2 separate regions of the Homo sapiens genome follow, and region 1 is linked to region 2. Evidence: promoter capture Hi-C in human tissues and cell types (Jung and others, 2019). All regions are on one chromosome and are shown on one strand. Each heading gives the region's core, a stretch centred on a gene start or on the middle of the fragment in contact. The rest is flanking DNA. Distances are from core to core; before and after follow the strand shown. Region 1 holds the start of LOC124905030 (a long non-coding RNA gene). Region 2 holds the start of RRP1 (ribosomal RNA processing 1).

Evidence for each region. Contacts are between HindIII fragments. The study calls those that stand out against the background at their distance.
Region 1: a contact is called between a fragment that was not itself captured here and the fragment with the promoter of RRP1 in region 2, in 2 of the 25 tissues and cell types used here (adrenal gland and heart left ventricle).

What each region holds. Positions count from the first base shown.
Region 1 is chr21:43,701,878-43,704,577 of GRCh38, forward strand. It overlaps LOC124905030 (a long non-coding RNA gene), which reads right to left and starts at 1,423. Exons shown (of 2, transcript XR_007067894.1): 1 at 786-1,423; 2 at 1-115. The HindIII fragment of the contact is 8,181 bases long and covers 1-2,700 here.
Region 2 is chr21:43,788,152-43,790,851 of GRCh38, forward strand. It overlaps RRP1 (ribosomal RNA processing 1), which reads left to right and starts at 1,426. Exons shown (of 13, transcript NM_003683.6): 1 at 1,426-1,611. The coding sequence starts at 1,479. RefSeq lists silencers at 1,227-1,456, 1,667-1,836 and an enhancer at 1,487-1,596. The HindIII fragment of the contact is 35,062 bases long and covers 1-2,700 here.

The sequences.
Region 1 (2,700 bases), core at 50-2,549, 86 kb before region 2:
GAGTCACATGTGGTTGCAGCTATGATATTGGCCATGGCGATTCTACAGCTAAAGCCGAGAGGAAGTTTGTCCAGAGAACAAGTCGGGGTGGGGATCTCAGTAGAGGGAACCGCACCTGAGTAGAGGCACAAAGGAGGGAACAGCCAGTGCAGCCAGGATGTAGGGGGGCTGGCCAGGGACGGCCATGGGGGCCGTGGGGGCCGTGGGCAGGGTTTGGGCTTTGTCCTGTGCACACTTCAGGAGCCACTGGAGAGCACCCACCAGGCAGCAGGGGAAGGAAGGGTCAGAGGCCCGGATGGACCAGAGGCGGGAGGGCAGCCAGGCCTGGGGCCCACACCTGGGCTCAGCGGGCAGGATCGGAGGACCGGCTTCTGGTTGATGTGGGGAGGGCCCAGGGAGAATGGGGAAAAGAAGACAGGGAGGTTTCCAGAGCGTGTCGGCCTCTCTCCTCGTTTCCTGATCCACCTCATCTCCATGGGCACGTTTTCCTTCTGAGAAGAGCTGGGAAGCCCGTCAGCAGGCGGGCCTCTGTCCTCACCTCCACTAACCTGGCCCTTGCAGGCGTCCCAGGCTTCCAGGGCCAGCCCCCTGGGGTTTGGCACCCTGCAGCCTCTGACTTTCTCTTCACTGCTCCTTTGGGAGCACGTGCCAGAAGAGACACTGCCTCCGTGGCTGGCACGGACGACGACGCCCAGCAGGCAGCTGTCTCAGGAGGACAGGCCCAGCTGCAGGAAAGGGCAGCCCCGGGCTTCTGGCAGGGGCTGAGGCAGGGAGGCCAGCCCTACCTGGGGGCTGGAGGTGGCGTTGAGTGGGGGTGTAGGGGGTCCGCAGACGGCAGCTGAAGCCCCTTCTCTGCAGGTTATGCTGGTGCGATTCCCTTTTAGGAAGTAGAGTCCGTGTGGAGAGAACGGTGAGCCGCCTGCGTCCTGTTGCGATTCAGCCCCTGTGTCTTCCCGGAGGGCCCTGCGCCCGCCTTTTGTTCCTAGGACTCGGTGCCTTTCTGAACCCAGTCTAAAAATTGCCGCAGCTCTTTCTGGCGTTAGTCACTGCCTGGTGATTAAGGCTTCAGTCCGTCAATCTTTAAATCCTACAATTATTTCTCCACCCAGGTTTTTAAGAATAAAAGTTGAAAATGTACTGAACTGACAGCTACCGGATTTGATTCCTATTTGATTCGTACCTTTCCCGAGTGGCCCCGATCGCCACCGCAGCGCCACGTCCTGGCAAATCATTCACGCCGACCTTGAGAACTCAGCAGAGGTGCAGACTGACACTCAGCCCCGCCCCCTATCACGGGCTTTCTGCGGGTGAAAGGAGACGTTGCTTTTGTTCCCCACAAGCAACTGCAGGCAGTGCTACTTATTTTTAACACAGTTGAGCGGGCAACTTTATCTTAAATGATTATGTGCTGAAATCTGCTGATGAAAACGCTATAAGATGGGCATGGGCAGGGGTGGCCGCCAGATGTGTTCTGCGTGACAGCTTTTTCTGAACCTGCTGGACAAAGTCCCCACTTGTTGCCCGCTCAGCCCCGGTCACAGCCCCACCTCGCCGGGGCTTGTCTTCAGTTCCTCACACTGCCACGCTCTTGACCCACTCATTGGCCTCTTTGTGGGGACCCTTCAGCCAGAAGGCCCTTCCCCTTTCCTGCCCAGCTCTGGCCCAGACCTGCCACATGGAGGCTGTTAGAGGTGGAATGTCTGAGGCCTCCAAATGCATGTGTTGAAACCTAATCCCCAGAGGGATGGTATTTGGCGATGGAGTTTCCCAGAAGTGGCTTGGTTTGTGCTGGCTGCTATAGCAAGTACAGTCATGGGTCGCCTAGTGAGATCTGTTTTGAGAAATGCATGCTCGGGCGATATCACTGTCGTGCAGACCTCACAGCATTCACTCACACAAACCCGGCTAGCACAGCCCGTGACACACCTCAGCCCTGTGCTGTAACCTGCTGTTCCCAGGCTACAAACCTGCAGAGCATGTCACTGCACCAGATACTGTGGGCCCCCTTGACAGTGGTGAGCTCTTGTGTATCTAAATACAGAAAAGGCATAAAAAATAACGTGCCAGCCGGGTGCGGTGGCTCACACTGTCATCCCAGCACTGTGGGAGGCCGAGGCGGTTGGATCACCTGAGGTCAGGAGTTCGAGACCAGCCTGGCCAACATGGTGAAACCCCGTCTAAACTAAAAATACAAAAATTAGCTGGGCATGGAGGCACATGCCTGTAATCCCAGCTTCTGAGGCTGAGGCAGGAGAATCGCTTGAACTGGGGAGGCGGAGGTTGCAGTGAGCCGAGATCACACCACTGCACTCCAGCCTGGGTGACAGAGCGAGACTCCATCTCAAAAAAAAAAAAAAAAAAATACGGTGTCATCATGTATGGGACTATCTATGGGACTTGTGGCACTTGACTGGACCATAAACTGCTTATAAACAACAGAAATTGATTTCTCAAAGTTCTGGAGGCTGGAGGTCCAAGATGGAGCACCGGCAGATCTGGTGTCTGGGAGAGGCCAGGCAGCTCTTTGGGGCCTCTTTCACAAGGGCACAAATCCCATTCCTGAGGGCTCCCCGCAACGACTTCATCACCTCCCAAGACCCCACATCCTGATACCCTCACCTTGGGAGTTAGGTTCAACCTATGCATTTGGGGGGACACACTCAGTCTCTAGCAGTTGGGTAGACCCAAGATTGCCCTCAG
Region 2 (2,700 bases), core at 176-2,675:
TTTGGCCTCCCCAAGTGATGGTTGGGATTACAGGCATGAGCCACCACTGCCAGCCTTTTCAACTTTTTATGAAAAATTTCATACATAGAAAATGTCAGAAGATAGGTCAATGAAGACCTGTATTCCTGCCTGTAGACGCCACACTTGTATTTTTTTGAGACGGAGTCTCACTCTGTCACCCAGGCTGGGGTGCAGTGGCGCGATCTCGGCTCACTGCAAGCTCCGCCTCCGGGGTTCACGCCATTCTCCTGCCTCAGCCTCCTGAGTAGCTGGGACTACAGGCGCCCGCCACCACGCTCAGCTAATTTTTTGTGTTTTTAGTAGAGACGGGGTTTCACCGTGTTAGCCAGGATGGTCTCGATCTCCTGACCTCATGATCCGCCCGCCTCGGCCTCCCAAAGTGCTGGGATTACAGGCGTGAGCCACCGCGCCCGGCCAACGCCACAACTGTTAACAGTGTGCCATAGTTGCTTATCTGCATACACATATGTGCGTGTAATGATTTACTTTTTTGCAGAATGAATTACAGACATCATGACAGGTCACCTTTACCAAAGAGTTCTGCAGTTATTTCTAAAAATAAAGAATATTTTTCTACTTCAGGGTATGTCAAACTGTGGCCCTAGGCCAAATGCAGCCTCCCCGTTTTTTTTTTTGTTGTTGTTTTTTGAGACAGAGTCTCACTCTGTCGCCCAGGCTGGAGTGCAGCGGCGCAATCTCGACTCACTGCAACCTCCGCCTCCCGGATTCAAGCAATTCTCCTGCCTCAGCCTCCTGAGTAGCTGGGATTACAAGCGCCCGCCACTACGCCTGGCTAATTTTTGTATTTTTAGTAGAGACAGGGTTTCACCATGTTGGTCAGGCTGGTCTCAAACTCCTGACCTCGTGATCCACCCGCCTCAGCCTCCCAAAGTGCTGGAATTACAGGCGTGAGCCACCGCGCCCGGCACACCCCTGGTTTTAAAAATAAAGTTTCGAGCCGAGAGTGGTGGCGCCCGTGGTCCCAGCTCCTCGGGAGGCTGAGGCTGGGGGATCCCTGGAGCCCGCGAGGCAAAGGCTGCAGTGAGCCGAGATCGCGCCTTGCACTCCAGCGTGGGTAACAGAGCGAGACCCTGTCTCAGGAAAAAAATACAAGTGGGGTTATAAATAAAATGAGATTAAAAAACAACAGATCTTTGCCTCAGAATCCCGACCCACCGCAGCCCCAGCGAGGCGCAGGCGCAGGCGCAGGCGCGCGCTCGCTGGTTCCGCCCATGCGCACAGGCAGGGAGCGCGCGCCCCCTCTGTAGCCTTCGGCCTCCGGGGGCTGCAGTTGCGCGGCTCGGCCACTGCGCGGCGGTGGCGTGCGCCTGGGCGGTGTCGCGGGCTGTGACGTCACGCCACGCGCCGGGGCCAGGAGGAGGCGGGCGCAGGAGGCGCGTGCTCAGTGTGCTGGGTACCAGGCGACTCCGGGACAGGGGGTCTCGGCCGTCGGCGTCATGGTTTCGCGCGTGCAGCTCCCGCCTGAGATCCAGCTGGCTCAGCGCCTGGCGGGGAATGAGCAGGTGACCCGGGACCGGGCGGTGAGGAAGCTCCGGAAATACATCGTCGCCAGGACTCAGCGGGCCGCAGGTTGGCGGGGGTGTGGGCGGCTGGCGTCTCGGGGGCCGGCTGGGCTGGTGCGGGTGTGGGCGGCGGCGGCCGGAGCTGGGGGCCCTCCGAGCCCTGTGGAACCTCCACGTGGCCGGGCCGGGCAGGCGGGGTCCACTGGCCTGTTCCCGCTGTTACCGGCCCACGGCCCCCGCCGCCGCTTTCCCTCGTGGTGCGGTGACTCTGGTCCCTCTGCGAGAACGCTCCTCCCCAGCCCCGTAACCCCTTTCCTAGCTCAGGCGTCCCCTCCCTCCAGTAGACCATGTACTCCTGCTGCCCTGCTGTTTGGGCACCCAGTATTTTTCCCTCATGGCAGCATTTCCCACTGTTTGCAGTTTTCTGTTTTGCGTTAATTATTGGATTGTTTTCCGATTTCCACTCGAGAGTACCTCTCTGAGGGCCGAGAATCTACTTCTTGTTCATGGTACCAGGTGGTTCTCCGAGCGTGGTCCCCCATCAGCAGTAGCATCCCCTGGACATTTGTTAGAAATACACGTTCTATGCCGGGCGCAGTGGCCCAAGCCTGTAATCCCAGCTACTTGGCACGTCGATGTGGGAGGATCACAAAGGCCCAGGAGTCCAGCCTGGGCAACATAGCAAGACTCCATTTCCATCGCAAAAGAAAAGAAAGAAATGCAAGTTCTAGGATCCCAGCCCTACTAAATCAGGACTGGCATCTGCTTTATGAAGCTGTTCAAGTGCTTCTGCTCCCCACACTCAGCCTGAGAACCACTGCTGCAGGAACAGGTTGCCAGACACATAGGACTTCAGTGAATGTCAACTGAGTAATGTTTTAAATTAAAATTTTTTGTTATTTTTCTGAGTGAGACAGACCTCACTGTCATCCGTGGTGGAGGAGTGCATTGGCACGATTACAGCTCACTGCAGCCTCTACCTCCCAGGCTCAAGTGAGCCTCCCATCTCAGCCTCCCCAATAGCTGGGACTACTGGCACCGTGCGGCCAGGCCAGCTAAGTTTTGTATTTTTTGTACAAATTGGGGTCTTCCTATGTTGCCCAGACTGGTCTTGAACTCCTGGCCTCAAGTGATCCTGCCTCAGCACTCAATTCCA